Linked DNA regions of Homo sapiens: region 2 is linked to region 1. The links are contacts of gene promoters, found by promoter capture Hi-C in blood cells and fetal thymus (Javierre and others, 2016). All regions are on one chromosome and are shown on one strand. The core of a region is centred on a gene start or on the middle of the fragment in contact, and the rest is flanking DNA. Distances in the headings are between cores, read along the strand shown.

Evidence for each region. Contacts are between HindIII fragments. The CHiCAGO score rates a contact against its expected background, and 5 or more counts as called.
Region 2: a fragment that was not itself captured here is called in contact with the fragment with the promoter of OR6K6 in region 1 in 2 of 17 cell types (neutrophils and M2 macrophages); the score reaches 7.4 in neutrophils.

The regions. Positions count from the first base shown.
Region 1 is chr1:158,752,707-158,757,169 of GRCh38, reverse strand. OR6K6 (olfactory receptor family 6 subfamily K member 6) reads right to left here and starts at 2,450. Exons shown (of 1, transcript NM_001005184.2): 1 at 1,279-2,450. The coding sequence starts at 2,282. The coding sequence ends at 1,323. The HindIII fragment of the contact is 1,996 bases long and covers 2,427-4,422 here.
Region 2 is chr1:158,982,009-158,986,471 of GRCh38, reverse strand. It overlaps a transcript of PYHIN1 not described here. Among named protein-coding and RNA genes, the nearest start is that of PYDC5, 19 kb to the left of the region's middle. The HindIII fragment of the contact is 1,925 bases long and covers 1,062-2,986 here.

The DNA of each region.
Region 1 (4,463 bases), core at 1,201-3,700:
ATTGTTAATGATAAATGAGATAATACATGTTAGGGAATTGTTAAAAATGAGTATTAAATAGCCTCAGGACTAGAAATGATCTTAGTGATCATCCAGCCCAGCTGTTCCTGAATCTTACCCATCATCTGAATTTTCTGGGAGATTTTTAGAAATGCAGATGGCCAGGCTTCACTTTCAGATTTTCTGAACCACAAATGTTGACAATCAGTTTGAGCAATCACTGATCTAATCCAACCACATAATTATAGAGGAAGCTGAAGGCCAGCAAATTAAGTGGATCATCCAAAATGGCACAACTTAGTGTCAGAAAAAGGTATAAAATACAGTCCTTAAATCTCTTTGTCCCATAGTCTTTCCATGATGCCACAATCACGTGAGGGCTGGGGAATTCATGGAGGAAAGAACCATTAACTCCTAGGACTCATTAAAAACTGGTAAGGTTTCATTAAACTTTGGGGAAAAGAAGTTTGCATAATTTAGTTTTTTGAACATCAAGTAATTTACACAAAATTATATATTTAATGGAGACAGAGAATACAGTAGAGTACCTAAGGTTAAATCCCAGCTCTGTCACTACGTATATGACCTTAGGCCAGTCTTTAACTTCTGTGAGCTTTAGTTTCAACATTTAAATAATAGTGATCCCTGACCTATTTACTTCAGGGTATTTTAGATTTCAAGAGGATTTATACCTGTGAAAATATTTTAAATAGTAATGTGCTCAAGACATATAGTGGACTGTTATTGTTATTAATTTTGGTGGAACCTCTTGGGGTCTAAAATTCTGTAACACATCATGTACAAAATCAGTTCACGTTTGCTGAAATGAGTTTGGGAATTAAATGAGCTAAAAGTAGAGAAGACCTCTCTCTAGTATCAGGAAACGATTTATTTATATGGAATGCCAAATGACAGGGGATGCATTTCCAGAAAGGGAATTGGGGAAGTTAGCAGTAGCAATTCTCAGAACTTTCTTGTCTGTCATGCCTCTTCTATTCTGCTTCCCGGCCCCACTAGCATGTCAGAGCACTGAAGAGACTAGCAGGGGCCTAGCTGCTGGAGTGCGAGGAGGAAGCCAACCTGTGTTAAAAGCAAGAGAGTTGATCTATACTGCTTCAGCTATAACAAGCATGGTAGAGGCATTGATGTAAACTGGCCATCCACTTACCATCCACAGCCTGTATACAGCAGTTTATCATTCTTTTTAAAAATAATAGAACAAGTAGTTGCAGCAATACAGAAAGAGGATAGACATGGAAAAGATAAATAACAGTGAAATTTTGCTCTTCCAAGAGGCTTTTTAGAGTCTCCAGGATCTGTATCTATTTCCCAGCCCAACCAGCCCTCTTCTGATAGTGGAAAAGCCTTCCAATAGCCTCTTTCATGTCCTTGTTTTTCAGGCTATAGATGATGGGGTTGAAAAAGGGAGCAAGGATAACAAAAGTGACAGCAATTGCTGTGTCCCAAAACACTGAGTAGGTGGCTGAGAATCTCAAATACATGACAGCCACACTGCCAAAAAATAGCAAGAACACAGCAAGGTGAGCAGCACAGGTGGAAAAGGCCTTGTGATGACCTTCAGCTGAGTGCATTCCCAGAATCACTATAATAATCCGGATGTAGGATAGAGCAATGACCAGGAAGGAGGCTACAATTTCCGCTGCATGGATGGCATCCACAATGACCACTAGGAATGTATCTGTGCAGGCCAAGCTCAGCACAGGTGTGAAATCACAGAATATCTGGTGGATCTGGTTGGAGCCACAGAAAGGCAAGGTGGAAATCCATGCAATCTCAGGAAGCACAAGGAGGAAGCCACAAAAGCAGGATCCAACTGTCAGCTGGATACAAAGTTTGGGAATCATGATGGTTGGGTAACGGAGTGGATTGCAGATAGCTATGTACCTGTCAATGGCCATTGCTGTCAGGACACAGCTTTCTGTGATACCAAGTGAGTGGAAAAAGTACATCTGCAGGAGGCAGCCAGCCACGGAAATGCTCTTCTGCTCACTGATTAGGCAGGACAGCATCTTGGGGATGGTGGTTGTGGTATAGCAGATCTCCAGGAAGGAGAGGACACTGATAAAGAAATACAAAGGGGTGTGCAGGGCCATGCCCACCTGGATGACAATGAACATTATTAGGTTTCCAGTTAGGATAAATCCGTAGATGAGAAGCAAGGGAATAAAGAATAAGAGGCCACCTCTGTGCGCATGCGGGAACATAGAGAAGAGGAACTCAGTCACCATTGTCTGATTCCCACTGGCCGTCAACTGTGTCATCTGTGAACACAGAAAAGGAAACAAGAGACTCCTATAATTGGAATGTTGATTACCCACTGAATATTGCTTCATTCCTTTCTGTAATGAGTTACTCAAGCTGATTCTGGAATCCTGAAGAAACCAGTTAGAAATATCTCTTAAGCTTTACCTCCATGCCAAAATCATCTGAAATACTTGCTGTTGGACCCCTGAATGACCTTTTTTTTTTCTAGTAAACATCTTCAACTGATGTGCAAAAAGCAAAGCAATACTCAAATTTCATTATCTGGAAATATTTTCTGTAGGTTTGGTCATTTTTTAACGTCTGTCTGTCCCGGGTGTGAGGTGAGAAAGCTGACATGGTTTCTTCAATAGGTCAAAAGCAGATACAAATAAATGCATTTCAGACTAGGAAAATTAATTATTATTATTATTTTTTGAGATGGAGCCTTGCTCTTATTGCCCAGGCTGGAGTGCAATGACTCAATCTTGCCTCACCACAACCTCCGCCTCCCGGGTTCAAGAAATTCTCCTGTCAGACTAGGAAAATTAATTTTTAAAGGATGCCTCTGCCTTGCACCTTAAACTGTGAGGAAGGTAGATAGGAGAGGCAGGCTTTGGAAGGAAACAAGCAACAGTGCGCCACAGAAAGGCAGAGCTTCCAAGGGGAAAAGTGTAAGATATTGGAGTTTTCTTCTGACTAAAATATCCACTTCTCTGTCCTTCCTGTGTTTTTCTTTTCTAAGCAATTGAATAATCGTGCTGAGTAGTCATTATAGAGAATATGGAAGGACAGAGAAGGAAACACAGGGCTATAACAAAATACAAGAAAATAGGTGCTAAGTGGCTAATAAAAGCCAGACAGAGTGACTACTTTGTTGCTGTACGCACGGGGCCCTTCTCAGTAGTAAAGCTGCATCATTATTCATCATCGGTACATTTATTCAACTAACACTCATATATCGATTGATCTTCTGCTATGTGTCGATGATGCCATAGGTTCAAGGGCTATATAAAGGTAAATAAATATTATTCTTGTTCCTGAAATACATAAAGAACCATCAATAAAATCCTACTGTTAAAGATATTTAGTAGTGTCCAAGGAGTTCAATCTAAAAATATTTCTTGTATGACGTAAAGACACTTGAATTAGATTAGACTTGACTTTGAAGAAAAGCAGTAACTTTCTCTGTGACTCTTCAAGAATCCACAATTATTAGGGTTTCAACAAGATTTAATGTTTAAAAGACCTTAGACATTATCAGTATCTTCAAACTGTTAGCTGAACCATATTCTTTCTGTTATCCCTTCCCGATTTCATTTACCCTTAGTATAATATTTCACTCATGTAACAAAGTTCTTAAAATATGACAGTTTGCCGTGAAACAGCAGGGCAACAGTTGGGTTCTGAAGAGTTGAGGATGTAAGGAAGCTATTGGGCGGCAAAGTAGAAGTAAAAGGAGGTTGGATGATGCCCTTTCAATGCAGTCTTTAGTACTTACCCTGCCTGACACCATGAGAATGCTCCTCAAAATCTCTGCAGCCACCTCTTCTCCTAGCCTGTCAATAAGGGTACAAATGTCTCTGAAGCCTCTTCCAGGAATAACTAGAATGGAAAGATGGTCTTTCCTGGGAGTTTCTCTTTGGATGATGCAATGTCTAAAGGAAAATTATGTATCTTTCTCTCCCCTCTAAGGGACAAATTAGAAGAACAATGCTACATAGTAATTAGACATTCCCCAGGGTCAGGTTTCAAAAGTTGTCCTGGGGCTATAAAACCTTATCTCTCATAGAGGAATAGAGTATAAAGCTGGGCACTGGGGCACAGCTGTGGCAGTCAGAATAAACTTCATCCAGGATCATGATTCTCTGGAATACTCAATCAGTAAACACTCTTTCCTCTCCACTTTTATTCATTTTCACTATGATTTCTATTCCCTCTGTTGATATAATCAACATCATCATATTTTTAGAAGTTTTTAAATGCAAGTCTTATTTGATCCTTTAAGAAACTTATTTGTATGCTGAAAAAAATAGTTAACATGGTTAAGATTTATGTGATTTGTTTTTCATCATATTAAAAAAACCTCTTTGTATAAGGTAAGCAAGACTACAGTGATTCGCATTTTGCAGATGTGGAGGCTCAGAGAAGCCAAAAGCTTTCTCCAGTACACACAGGCAATACAAGGCATGGAAGAAACT
Region 2 (4,463 bases), core at 775-3,274, 230 kb before region 1:
AGCAGGTCCTTTACCTCAAGTGGTCAGAAAAAAAGGTGTTGGCCTAGTTTCAGACCCCTAGGGGTAGAGCACACAGCCTAACAGTGCTGAGCTGATCCTTGGACCCATGAAATTATCCAGAAACAAAGCCGATCAACTAAACCCAACTTATAGCACAGCTAGACACTCAAGGACATCAAAGAATATAAAATAAAAGAGCCCCATCCAAAGAACAGCAACTGCAAAGACTAGCAAAATATTAGCCCACACAGATGGGAAAGAACCAGTGCAAGAACTCTGGCACTGTAGAAACCAGAGTGTCTTACCTCCAAACTACCATGCTACCTACCCAGCAAAGTCTAGATGGCAATGAAGATTCTTGAAATATAGGAGAAAGCAGAAACCCAATCAAAGGAATCTAAGAAATCCAATAAAATAATACAAAAGCTTAAAGATAAAATAGCCATTTTAAGAAAGAACCAAACTAACCTACTAGAGCTGAAAACTCACTACAAAAATTTCATAATATAATTGGAAGTACTAACAGCAGAAGCTGAGGAAAGCTGAGGAAAGAAATCTCAGAGCTTGAAGATCAGTTCTTCAAATCAACTCAGTCAGATAAAAATAAAGGAAAAAATAATAAAATATGAACGAAACTTCAAGAAATATGAGTTTATGTAAAGAGACCAAACCTACAACTGATTTGCATCACAGAAAGAGAGGGAGAGAGACCAAGCAACTTGGAGAACATATTTGAAGATATTGTCCCTGAAAATTTACCTGACCTTGCTAGAGAGGTTGACATGTAAATTCAGGAAATTCAGAGTACCCCAGCAAGATATTACACAAGATGACAATCCCTAAGACACATAGTTATCCAATTCTCCAAGATCAAGGTAAATAAAACATATGAAAGGCAGCAAAAGAGAAGAGGCAGATCATGTACAAAGGGAACCCTTATCACACTAACAGTGGACCTTTCAGCAGAAATTTTTCAAGCCAGAAAAGATTAAAGGCCTACATTCAGCATTCTTAAACAAAAGAAATTCTAACCATGATTTCATATCCAGCCGAACCAAGCTTTGTAAGTGAAAAAGAAACATAATCCTTTTCAGACAAACAAACACTAAGCGAATTTGTTACCATTAGGCCTGCCTTATAAGAGGTCCTTCAGGGAGTGCTGAACATGGAAACAAAAGGCTGCTACCTGCCACAAAACAACACACTTAAGTAAATATTCCACTGACACAATATGCAACTATACAATCAAGTCTACATAACAACCAGCTAATAACACTATGACAGGATCAAATCCTTACATATCAATATTAACCTTGAACATAAGCAGGCTAACCACTCCACTTAAAAGGCACAGAATGGTAAGTTGGATAAAGAAGCAAGACTCAATTACATGCTGTCTTCAAGAGACCCACCTTACATGTAAAGACACAGGCTTAAATTAAATGGATGGAGGAATATCTATAAAGCAAATGGAAAACAAACAAAATAGAGCAGGGGTTGCTCTTTTATTTCAGGAAAAAAAAAACAGACCTTAAACCAAAAGCTATCAAAGAGGATGAAGAAGGGCATCACATAATGATAAAAAGTTCAATTCTACAAACAAGACTTAACTATCCTAAAGATGTGTGCATTCAGCACTGGCACAACCAGATTCATAAAACAAGTTCTTAGAGACCTATGAAGAGAACTAGCTAACCTCACAATAATAGTGGGAGAATACAACACCCTACTAACATTGTTAGATAAATCATTGAGGGAGAAAACTAACAAAGATATTCAGGAACAAAATTTCACACTTGACTAAATTGACCTAACAGACATATAAGGAACATTCCACTCAACAACAGAATATACATTCTTCTCATCTGCACATGGCACATACTCTGTGCCACATGCTTGGCCACATGCTTGGCCATAAAGCAATGCTCAGGAAATTCAAAAAACAGAAATTATATCAACCACACTCTCAGATCACAGTGCAACAAAAATACAAATCAATACCAAGAAGATCTCTGAAAATCATAGAAGTATTTGGAAATTAAACAACTTACTCCTGAATGACTTTTGGGTAATAAATTAAATTAATGCAGAAATCAAGAAATCTTTGAAACTAATGAAAACAAAAATACAATATATCAGAGTCTCTGGGACACAGCTAAAGCAGTGTTAAGAGAAAAGTTTATAGCACTAAAGGCCTACATCAAAAAGTCAGAAATATCTTAAATTTATACCTAACATCACATTTACAGGAACTAGAAAAAACAAAAGGAAACCAACCCCCAAACTAGCAGAAGAAAAATAATAATCAAAATCTAAGTTGAACCAAATAAAATTGAGATGTGAAAATTCACAAAAATAATTAAGAAAACTAAAAATTGGTTTTTTGAAAGAATAAGATATATAGACCACTAGCCAGATTAATATACAAAAAAAAAAAAAAAAACAGGAGAAGATCCAAATAAATACAATTAGAAATGACAAAGGGGACATTACCATGGAACCCACAGAAATACAAAAACTCTCAAAGACCATTATGAACAATTTCTATGCTGAAAAACTAGAAAATCTAGAAGAAACAGATAAATTCCTGAAAACATACAACCTGCCAAGATTGAACCAGGAAGACATTGAATACCTAAACAGATCAATAACAAGTTCTGAAATTGAATCCATAATAAAATACCTACAAACCAACAAAAGCCATGGATCAGACAGATTCACATCTGAATTCTACCTGATAGATAAGGAGGAGCTGATACCAATCCTACCAAAATTATTCCAAAATATTGAGGAGCGGAGACTCTGCCCTGAATCATTCTATGAGGTCAGCATTATTCTGATACCAAAACCTGACAGAAACACAAAGGAAAAACAAATTCAGGACAATATGCCTGATAAATATTGATGCAAAAGTCCTCAAAAAAAAATACTAGCAAACTAAATCCAGCAGCACAGCAAAAGCTAAGCCACCATGATCAAGTAAGCTTTACCCCTGGAATGCAAAGTTGGTTCAACATACGCAAATTGGTAAATGTGATTTATCACATAAACAGAACTAAAAACAAAAATCACGTGATTATCTAAATAGATGCAGAAAAGGTTTCAATAAATTCAACATTCTTTCATGTTAAAAACCCTCAACAAACTAGGTATCAAAGGAACATACCTCAAAATGAGACATCTATGACAAAACCACAGCCAACATCATATCACAAATAGGCAAAAGCTGAAATCATACCTCTTGAGAACCAGAACAAGACAAAGTTGCCTACTCTCACTACTCCTGGTTCAACATAGCACTGGAAGTTCTAGCCAGAGCAGTCAGGCAAGAGAAAAAAAAATAAAAGACGTCCAAATAGAAAGAAAGGAAGTCAAACTACCTCCTTTTGCAGGTAATATGATTCTATACCCAGAAAACCCCATAGCCTTTGCCCCAAATTTCCCAGAAATTATAAACAACTTCAGCAAAGTCTCAGGATACAAAATCAATGTACAAAAATTAGTAGCATTTCTATACAACTAATAATACCCAAGCTGAAAGCCAAACCAAGAACATAGTTCCTTTCACAATAGCCACACAAAGAATAAACACATAGGAATACAGCTAACCTGGGAGGTAAAAGATTTCTACAACAAGAGTTACAAAATGCTGCTAAAAGAAATTAGAGATGATACAAACAAATGGAAAGACATTTCATTCTCATGGATAGGAAGAATCAATATTGTTAAAATGGCTATATTCTCCAGAGCAATTTACAGATTCAATGTTATTCTGATCAAACTACCAATGTCATTTTTCACAGAATTAGAAAAACTATTCTAAAATTTATATGGAACCCAAAAAAGATCCCAAATAACCAAAATAATCCTATGCAGAAACCACAAAGCTGGAGGCATCACACTATCCAAATTCAAACTATACTACAAAGTTACAGTCACCAAAGTAGCATGGTGCTAGAACAAAACAGATACATAGACCAATGGAACAGGTTAGAGAACCCAGAAATAAAGCTGCACACCTACAACCATTGGATCTTCAACAAAGTTGACAATAACAAGTAATGGAAACAGTACTTCCTATTCAACAAGCAGTGTCAGGATAACTGGCTGGTTATATACAGAAAATTAAAACTGGAACCCTTCCTTTCACCATATAAAAAATCTACTCAATATAAAGTTAAAAAAAACTTATATATGTAAAACCTAAAACTGTAAATGCCCTAGAAGAAATCTAGGAAATACTATTCTGGACATTAGCCTTGGCAAAGACTTCATGACAAAGACTCCAAAAGCAAATGTAGCAACAACAACAAAAATTGACAAGTGAGATCTAATTAAAGATCTTCTGTACAGCAAATTAGACTATCAACAGAATAAAAAGATAGTCTACAGAATGGGAGAAAGTATTTGCAAACTATGATTTCTGAGAAAGGTCTAATATCTAGACTCTATAAGGAACTTAA